Linked DNA regions of Homo sapiens: region 1 is linked to region 2. The links are contacts of gene promoters, found by promoter capture Hi-C in human tissues and cell types (Jung and others, 2019). All regions are on one chromosome and are shown on one strand. The core of a region is centred on a gene start or on the middle of the fragment in contact, and the rest is flanking DNA. Distances in the headings are between cores, read along the strand shown.

Evidence for each region. The method cuts DNA at HindIII sites, captures the fragments that hold promoters and counts their contacts. A contact is called where the count stands out against the background at its distance.
Region 1: a contact is called between a fragment that was not itself captured here and the fragment with the promoter of GSTA5 in region 2, in 2 of the 25 tissues and cell types used here (liver and thymus).

Annotation. Positions count from the first base shown.
Region 1 is chr6:52,740,827-52,746,105 of GRCh38, forward strand. It overlaps the pseudogene GSTA7P. Among named protein-coding and RNA genes, the nearest start is that of GSTA2, 20 kb to the right of the region's middle. The HindIII fragment of the contact is 4,440 bases long and covers 924-5,279 here.
Region 2 is chr6:52,839,142-52,844,354 of GRCh38, forward strand. GSTA5 (glutathione S-transferase alpha 5) reads right to left here and starts at 1,672. Exons shown (of 6, transcript NM_153699.3): 1 at 1,586-1,672. The coding sequence starts at 1,672. RefSeq lists an enhancer at 4,531-4,700. The HindIII fragment of the contact is 18,057 bases long and covers 1-5,213 here.

The sequences.
Region 1 (5,279 bases), core at 1,894-4,393, 97 kb before region 2:
GGCTCTGACTCCTAACCTACAGTTATAATCTGCAAGTTGAAGTGTCTAGGGGTGGACTGCACTGATGTCTGCAACTTTGAAATGCATAAAAGTATCTTCCTCCCCATCCCACTGCCACCCTCCGTTTTTGGATATTTACCCCTGAAACGCCCCACAGTAACAAACACCCCACAATAACAAAACAATGGGCAGTTGGTCTCATGTCTTCCTACGCATGGTGCCAGAATATTTTCTGATGTATTCCATTCATCATGTTCCTTTTAAATCAAATCCAGTGTTGTTCTAAAGACTGTAGACCAAATTCTACTGTGGCTCAGAGCCTCTCACAGCCCATGTTCTAATTATGAACATGAAATTTTGTTAAATAAATAATTTATATTGGAGTCTAGTGAATTGTAATTTTGTGATAACAGCCTGGACAACATTGAGAGACCTCATCTCTTAAAAAATTCTAAAAATTAAACAGGCACAGTGGGTCATGCCTGTAATCTTAGCTACTCAGAAGGTGGCTAAGGTGGGAGGATCACATAAGCCCAGGAGGTCCAGGCTGCAGTGATCCACTGCACTGAAGCCTGGGAGACAGAAGAAGATATCATCTCCTAAAAAATAAAGAAAAATAAAACAAAACTTTGCTGGAAAATTATAGCTTGAGTGTAAGCGGTACAATTGTTTGTCAGTGCCCCAGGAATGCCAAGCCACTGTTTTTCTATTGTCCTCAAAATGCAGTGTTCCAAAACGCTGAATGACTTCACTTACTTTCTCAAAGGTAGGGAAATAGCAATTTTTCATTCTCTCTTCGATCAAGGCAAGTTTGACATCTTTTTCCTCAGGTTGACATATGGGCAGAAGAAGGATCATTTCATTCAAATCTGCCATACCTTCTATATACATATCAATCCTGAAAGACAAAAACAACCAAACTTTCTAATGCCTTTTGCCTTAGATTTTATAGTTTAAAAATCTAAGAGGATAGAGCATCAGGTGGTGGCAAAGCAATTTACCTCCAATGATTGCCTTTCATAGTCTAGTCATTATGCTCTGATTTTTACAGGTATATTAACATTTATTTTTTTAAAACAACCTATTGAGGTAGATAGATCTCTAAATTTTGTTACACACATGACCTAATACAGGTAAAAAGAGCATCGGTGGTCACAGTCATGACAGAAACTTGTGGAATCACTGCCAGTACCCACTGGTGCTGTGCCAGGACTGACCATCTCTATTGTGGTTTGTTCTGTGTGTGAACTTAGTGTGAGTCAAATTGCCAAAGTCCTGCCTCCTAAGTAATCCCAAGAGAGTCCCTGGCACAGCCATCTCAGTCATGTTCCTTGTTCTGTCTCATCATTTTACATCTCCCAGGCCCACTTCTATGCCCAATATTAGCAGTTTTTCCAGTTACTCCCATGAAACATAATTCTACAGCCCTCTCCATGTGCTGTTGTCCGACTCTAGCCACGTGTGCCTTACCTGAGACTCCACCTAAAAGATCCCCTTCCTTGGTGAAATTATTTATACAGTTACAACCAGTGCAAACTTTTTCTTTTGTGTCAAACTCAGGTTTCACAATACTTTTTAAAACAACAGCTTATTGACATACAGCCACATTCAGTGCTTTTTAGCACATTCACAGAACTCTGCAAAAATCATCACATTCTAATTCCAGAATATTTTTTATGACCCCGATAAGGACATCTGTACCATCAGCAGTATTCTTCATTTTACTCCAAGCCCCACTCCTTTAGCCCCAGGCAACACTAATCTACTTTCTGCCTCTATGGATTTGCATATTCTGGACGTTTCATACAAAAAGAATCCTATAATATGTGGCTTTCTGTGTCTTGTTTCTTTTATGTAACATGTCTTTATGGTTTAACCATCTTGTAGCATGCATCAGTACTTCATTCTGTTTCATGACAATATCGTTCCATCACATGGCTAAAGCACATTTTGCCCCTCCATTTATTGATTGATGGATATTTGCCTTGTTTCCACTTTTTGAATACTATGAATATTGTTATTTGCATTGTACATTTATCTTCAATATTTAGTGTGGTTGTATTTTTTATTCTTTTGGGAATATATCTAGTTGAGGAATTGCTTGGTCATTGGTAATACTGCAGGAAAATTTTGGAGGGGCTGCCAAAAGTTCCATTCAGGATTTATTTGGAATCATGTAGTTTTATCACAATAGTGAGGAAACCCTTTGGCTTTGCTGGTATTGAATCAATCTGGCTGTTTCAGCCTTGTAACCATGTGTCAAGATAACCCCAGCATCCTTGGTGCCAGCCTCTGCTAGCCCTGCTCAGGTGTTGCAGTCCATATAATTGGCTGGTAACTTAGGTCCCTGGTCATCATTCTTGGATTTACTGGAACCTGAGATTCAGCTCCTTTGTAACCTTTTCTCCCCAGGCCTTCACCTACAGACTCTCAAACGTTCTATGCCTTGTCCTAAGCTGTTGGCTCCAGTCCAGCCTCTGAAGGCCTGAGCACCTGGAATCATGATTCCCCATCCTCCTGAGTTCATGGTTCATCCGTGTTTGGAAACCTCTGTCAGGGTGCTGGATCCATGGACTGGATCCTCTTCTAGACTCCCCCTCGCCTGAGCCCACCCCATGTTCACTGTTCCCTCATCTCCATGAGTCTCTGCAATGCTAGACCCTAGCGTACATGCTGAAGGCCCCTACCATGTCCCACCCACTCAAGGAAGGACCTAAATCACTCCTGTGTTAAATCTGTTGATGGAAGAATAGAAACTATACCATACAGGGCTCTCTCCTTTGTGTCTTTCCCATAAAGGTTGTATTTGCTGGCAATGTAGTTGAGAATGGCTCTGGTCTGCACAGCTTCATCCTGTCAATCTCAACCATTGACACTAGCTGGAACATCAAACTCCCATCTTTACAAAGAAGGAAAAAAAAGGAGAGTGAAATGACTATGAATCCCACTCTTTCAGGATGAAAAAAATGGTTGTGAAAATGACTAAATTTGTACATGAAAAAGAAATTATTGCCTGGTAAGATTTCACCTGAAAGTGCGTTTTTAAAAAGCTTCCTGTAGTCCTTCTTTTTGTTAATCAGCTTCCTTTTACTTTTTATCATGTTGTTTCATTTTTGTTATTTATTTCTCCTCCAGATACATAGTAGAACTCTTGTCTTTTTTTGTGTTCATTTATGTTCATGGATACTTCAGGAAGATGTTGGGATAGGTTACAACAGGACTGCCAACACAATGCCATTTAGAATGAGAAGTTCCCAGAATAAGCCTCATATTTGTGACATTTAAGGCAGGTTCTGAGAGGTTTTTATGTAAGGGTCCCTTTCTGTGCTCTTCAAAGCCTGCAATACTGCTACAATATTACCTTTTCACACCCCCCATGAAAGAACAAAGACTCAAGACAATGGTCACATCTATTTCTCCTCCTTTCATCTAATCTATGTCCTTGAGTATCCTTGGATGGGGAGGCCTGTATGGGATCCTGAGCTGATCAACACAGCTCATTCATGGTGCCCAAAGCATGAAAATAAGGATAGGGCATTCTCAGGGCGCTGGGGATGGTTCCTCTAGCAAATACTCTGAGAAGTCTAGTTCTTTTAGCCTGGAGAGAGTTGCCAGACCTGATCAAGGAGCCACATCCCTTCCATTTTAACCACTTTCTCCCTCTCCACCTTGCCCAAATACCACCCCACACACACATGGGCATTGCCTGCTGTTCAAAATTCCTTGTGTGCCTTCTATTAGATACCCACATCAGAGGTACTTAGAGACTTCATCTTACCATTTCTTAACTTGTCCAATTCTTCTGCAGATTCTAGAAATTTCTGGTCAAACTGGAGACAGAAACAGTAAATGAGTTTTCGTTAGTTCATTCCATAGCATTATAAACTTCTGACTTTGAATAGCCCCTATCTGGTGCATCATTTGGAGAATATAAGATTTCTGAGTTTGGCAGTGCACACAGAGGGGCTGGTTGTGGCCATTTGTAAATTTAGACTAGATTCATTGGGGGAATGGCATGGGTCACAGCACATAGCTTCTCCGTCTTCCAGTTCACTGCATCTCCACCCCGATCTCATGACTATCTATGATTAAGTCATGTTTTGAGAGGGGATGTCAATGGAGAGATGGCACTGAGCAGTTCTTCTACTTATGGTGTTGTCATATCTTAGGAAAGCCTGTGTCTCCAAGTGAGATCAGACCACAACCTTGTGTGTCCCTAGCATGGGGTATGCCATGGGCTAATGGCCATCAAAGATTCTGCCACCAAGAGGCCTCTTCTGTAATTTACCTCACCCCACTTTTTAGGAATCTTGCTAAGTGTGAAATAGGTCATAGCTATTGCAAAGCTTTAACTCTTGCAACTATAATTTCCTTTTTCTGGAGTAAATGAGACACCATAGGGTAGAATCTCAATTTAAGAAAGGAATTAGAGTCCCCACACTAACATTATTTTTAACCAAAATCTCTGGTTTCTGAACCGGTTTTGTGGGTTCAATATCACCATTTTCATATATTGGCTTCTTGACTTTGGACACATTACTGAATCTCTCTGTGTCTGAGTATTCTAATCTATGAAATGGATATACTTGTGGTACCTATGGTACAGATTGGTAGGTTGGTATGAAGACTAAATTGCAAAGTCATACAAAGCACTTAGAAAAGTAGCAGGTCTCTAGTAAGTGCTCATTAAATATAACTAATTATTAGAAGTTTGAGAGATAGCTGCTATTTCAGCATGTCATCCTTTAAAAAAATCTAAATCAATCTAATATTGATGAAACTATTCTTTGTTATTGATCTACATCCAGTAACTTAAACCTTGGAGTAAATTACACCTTGTCCTGAGACAAGAGACATTGGTTGGAATGGCAGCCAGCAACAAGGCTGTCTCAATTTGATCAGAAGCTCAGAGTGGATGCAGGTATTTAATATAAATAGGAAAATCAGTTGTGACACAACTTTTCACAAAGGTCATCAAAACCTTTTACAAAAAATACTCCTGAAAAGGCATCTGTCCAGCAACTCCCTGTTCAAACTTGGCCTGGTGTCACCCTTGTTATTGATGTTTGCAGTGAATGATAAGTATTTCAAAACATTTACTTAATCCTTCTTATTCTTTTGCTTTAAAAATCTTTTTCTTCCTTTATCTCCCTAAGGACATACATGGTTTACTATGGTACACACGTACCCATTACAAAACTTTGTTCCCATATAAAGAGTCTCTTTCTGTTTATTAAGTTGACACAATATATCCAAAAGCAGCTGAATGCACAACTCAA
Region 2 (5,213 bases), core at 422-2,921:
AAGGAGGGTAGACAAGGTGGGGTGGGGTTGGCAAGTGGGATGTGAGGACTGGGTTGTGATCATCAGCCTTAGGGCGCTGAGACCCCAGAAGCCTGAGCAAGGTCTGCAGTCAGCCCTGCCCCCGCCTTCAGTCAGGCTGGATGGAGACCTGGGAACCTGGGTTCCTCCCAGCCTTGCCCCTCCCTCCCTCCTGCTGAACTCTTCCTACCCGGGCTCTGAACACATCCCTGAGCTGCAGAGCTGATGTCTGCGTGACAGTGAAACAGGGTATTCATTTGTACAAAGGAAACAACCTAGAATGATAGTGTTTGGATTTCTTATGTGCTTATTTCTTCATAGAACTGAGAAAGGGTGAGGCTAAAGTCCCAAGCCTTCGTGAAGCAACGCACAAAGTACCGTTCCGAGGCTCAGGTCCACACGGCGCTGTGAGGCTGAAGGGGCGCGCTAGAAGTTCCCTTCACAGGACGCCACCTCACCTGAAACCCCCCTTTTCTGCTGCCACCCGAGGGACAAGATCTCCTGAGTTTGTCCATGACTCACTTCCCAGGAAAACCCTCAGGCAGTCGCTGAAGGACTCTGGTCTGGACTGGGAAGTGTTTTTCTCAGTGACACCTCTAGAGGGCAGCACTCAGCGGAGTCCCACAGACACCTCCAGGCATTTCCTACTCAAACACTGGGAGGATGACCTGGTAACACTGGGGAATGCTTGGGTGTTCTAGAAGCCTCCACGCCTCATTTTAACCACGTGTTTACTTGTCTGCATCCTCATAGACATGTAGGCCGCCCCAGGGCAGGGACTGTGTCTGTCTTGTTCACTGTCTATCTCCATGACCTAGTACAGAACCTGGAATTAATAAGTGCTCAACAAATAATTGCTGTGAATGTAGTCAATCTTTAATAGGTAGTTTGTTACAATCCACTCCCTTACACCTCTCATTTATAGTTTGCATTTTACCTCTAACTACAGCCATTTTTAAATATTACGTATTTTCATTTTTTTGTTGTGGAAATTATGAACATGAATAAAAATAAACAGAAAAGCATAAAAATTCTCCTTATATTTCTCACCTAGAATCAATAATTATCAACCAAAACCAATGTGAAGTTATATTTATGCCCACCTACTTCTCCTTTTGTAATAATTCCAAAGAAATCCCAGATCCATATGATTAATCCTTAAATACTTCAATGTGTTTTCCTAAAACACATAAACTGTTCTAAAGATAACCATAGTACATTATCACACATGAAATATTAACAATAATTATTTCATGTCATCAAATATTCAGTCAATATCCAAGTTTCTAATGCCATAAATTATTTTTTACAGTTTGTTTAAATTCTAATCCACTTAAGTTCTACACTTTTTGATTAGTTTCTTAATTGTATTTTAATATGTATGCTCTTAGATAAGAAGAAATTTTAACAATTTTTAGGTCAAATCTATTCATCTTTTTCTTAATTACAGTCCATTTTTATTTAAGGCACAATGCTTCAGTAAGTAATCATTGCATAGTTTCTGTGGGAAAAGTATGTGATAACGCAATTTTAAATCCAACTTAAGATGACCTTACTCAGAACCTACCTCTACTCCAGCTGCAGCCAGGAGCCACCGAATGGACTCCATACTGCCCCGTGCATTGGAGTAGTGGAGCTTGGGCTTCTCTGCCATGATAGCAGTCTCCTGGAGGTTTCTCTAAGCCTGAATGAATGAATGAATAATTGAAACGATAGAATCAAAAATGTACTTTAGGATGTGTGGTTGAAAACCACAAACAATGCTGAAGAAGAACCTGCCTTCTTCATGACTGGGTTGAAGGAGTTCCTGGAATGTTTTCTTGGCTCAAATTGTTACCCAGCAGTGGCCACCCTCAAACCAGTCTCAAGTCTTCATTGTTTACCTGTGACTTTTCTTGGCAGCCTAAGAGGTGAGAGTATGTGGTAATAATACATGTACAGGAGTTAATGGAAGGGGAAGAATTCAAGAACTAATATTTATTGAAAACTTCCTCATGATCCTTCCTCAATGCTAGTCCCTTTCAATATTTTATATCTTTAACCCTCCTTATAGTCTCATTAAATGGTTGTTTTCTCCAATTTTTAGTTAATGAAATCGAACATCAGAGAAATACAATGTTCACAGTCACACTCTGGTTGGTGATGGACATGAATATCTACACCAAGGACTAAAATGAAGTCACGCCTGGAAGACATCTGGGTGAAGGCCCTGGGAACCCATGAACTGGTTGTGAAACCAGAGGATGTCACTGACAGGGAGGACCGGCAGGGAGCTAAGTCACTCTTCAGCTCTCTGGCTGTGAGACTGCATTTGATCAAAACCAGAAATTAGGCTTCAGACTTGTTTTACTGTAGCTAGAAGATCCAAAGTCTTTCAACAGAGAATGCTAATACCTTGCTTCTTTTGGTGTTCTATATTTTAACTCTGTGGGGGGCATTTTGTTTTATAACCTGGCAAAAGAGATGTTGCTGCATTAACTTTGCAGGATATGGAAGGAGCTAGCATTTGTTCAACGTCAGTCATACACTGGCCATTCTTCTAAACTTCTCTCATTTTGTCCTACAAAAATCACCTAAGGTGAAAGGCTGTTGCTATTCTCATTTTACAGTTGAGGATACTGAGGTTTTTAAAGTAACTTACCCAGATTAAGTGGTGGATCTGGGATGCAGACTCACTGCTATTAAAAACTAAAGACTGAGTCTTATTTTCTATGTTAATGTTTCTCAAATATGCATGGTAATCTTTCAGTAGATTGTGAAACCCCAGTACTTTTTAAAATAAAATAGAAAAGAATAAAAATATCAGTGAGCATGACATGTTGAAGGGTAAGTAATGTTTCATGAGTTGTTAGTTTCAGTTATTTGTATATTGTGTGTATGGATGTTTGCATGTGTGCACGCTCACCTGCTTGTTGTAAATGGTTAGAGAGAAATTGACTGGGCTCATCAGTGAAGTTTGATAGCCCTTGCTCTATCCCAGGCTGTTTGGGAGGTGGAACATAGCAGAGTATCAGAGAATGAAAACCAATGGCTGCAAGGACAGATGCAACTAATTGTATCATGAATGTGAATGGAAGGACACAGGACTCATTGAAAGCAGGAGTTCCAGTGCCAGGACTTAGGAACAGTTGCATATTCTCTCCAAACCCCCAGCTCTGTGATTAAACATTAAGATTCTTCTTGCAAAGTTTTGTGGTTGTTGAGTTTAGAAGAAAAATATACTTGCCTTTAACAACTAATGTATTTCTTTTTTTTTTTTTTTTGAGATGGAGTTTTACTGTTTTTTTCCCAGGCTAGAGTGCTATGGTGCAATCTCAGCTCATGCAACTTTAGCCTCCCAGTTTCAAGTGATTCTCCTGCCTCAGCCTCCCAAGTAGCTTGGATTACCAGCACATGCCACCACACCTGGCTAATTTTGTATTTTTTGTAGAGACAGGGCTTCAGCATGTTGGCCAGGCTGGTCTCAAACACCTGACCTCAGGAGATCCACTTGCCTCAGCCTTCCAAAGTGCTGGAATTACAGGCGTGAGCCACTGCACCCGCCGTCAACTAATGTACTTCTACAAAAGTATGTATGACTTAAATTTAGACATCAAAATCTTTTTTTTATACTTTAAATTCTGGGGTACATGTGCAAAACATGCAGGTTTGTTACATAGGTATGCACATGCCATGCTGGTTTGCTGCACCTTTCAACCCGTCATCTATATTAGGTATTTCTCCTAATGCTATCCCTTCCCTAGGCCCCCACCCCACTATAGGTCCCGGTGTGTGATGTTACCCTCCCTGTGACCATGTGTTCTCCTTGGTCAACTCCCACTTATGAGTGAGAACATGTGGTGTTTTGTTTTCTGTTCTTGTGATAGCTTACTGAGAATGATGGTTTCCAGCATCATCCATGTCCCTGCAAAGGACATGAACTCATCCTTTTTTATGGCAGCATAGTATTCCATGGTGTATATGTGGCACATTTTCTTTATCCAGTCTATCATTGATGGGCATTTGGGTTGGTTCCAAGTCTTTGCTATTGTGAACAGGGCCGCAGTAAACATACATGTGCATGTGTCTTTGTGGTAGAATGATTTATAATCCTTTGGGTATATACCCAGTAATGGGATTGCTGGGTCAAATAGTATTTCTAGTTCTAGATCCTTGAGGAATTGCCATACTGTCTTCCACAATGGTTGAACTAATTTACACTCCCACCAACAGTGTAAAAGTGTTGCTATTTCTCCACATCCTCTCCAGCATCTGTTGTTTCTGACTTTTTAATGATCGCCATTCTAACTGGCATGAGATGGTATCTCATTGTGATTTTGATTTGCATTTCTCTAATGACCAGTGATGATGAGCTTTTTTTATATGTTTGTTGGCTGCATAAATAGACATCAAAATCTTTTAAATGTCTACATTTTAAAATGTGGGAGTCAATAGTTTAGCCTTTGGAAAGTAAAGAATTCTTTGAAATCATACTGAATCAACTTACCTGTTCTGTGATTAGATATTTTGATGTTGTACTTTCCTAACTTGGGAAATGCAAATAGCATTATTCAGCAGAAAGAAAGGGAGAGTGAAGTTCACACAAAAGTGTGGGGCGCGGTTGTTTAATTGTTATGGACTAGAGTTCACAGTGTCATGATTCCAATCCCCACACTAAGCTCCCTTAGCCATTGATTGAGAATCATGTTTCAAAAGGAAATGAATTTTTATCTTATATAATATTTTATCACAACACTCCTGCTGATAACTAACATATCGCCTCTCAATATGAGGTTTCCAAGGGTCAGGCTAAGACTGGGGCAGAGGTTACCGTTGAGCTTTGTTCAGTCAACACAAAATGAGAACCTGAGAGCTCAAGGATTTGCCATGGGTCACACACACATGCTCCTCATTCATGGTCAATATCTAGGGAGTGTGTCTACCTTCTGCAACAACCCTGGGAAATGGCTCCTAATAGCCATTCAATGGGTACATTGAGTTTCAGAAAGCTAAAGCACCTATCTCATGCTGCACACTTGGTGAGTGTTGGGTCAGCCTGAACTCCTTCTGATTGCAGGACCAGAGCTTTTCCACTCCACCTCATAATCTGGCTCTCTGCTCCTGTCTGATTATGTTGTTTTATATTTTTCTATTCATAGTATATTAGCCAACTAAATGTTGGAAGGAGAGGGTGAGAGGGGAACATCTAATTCATG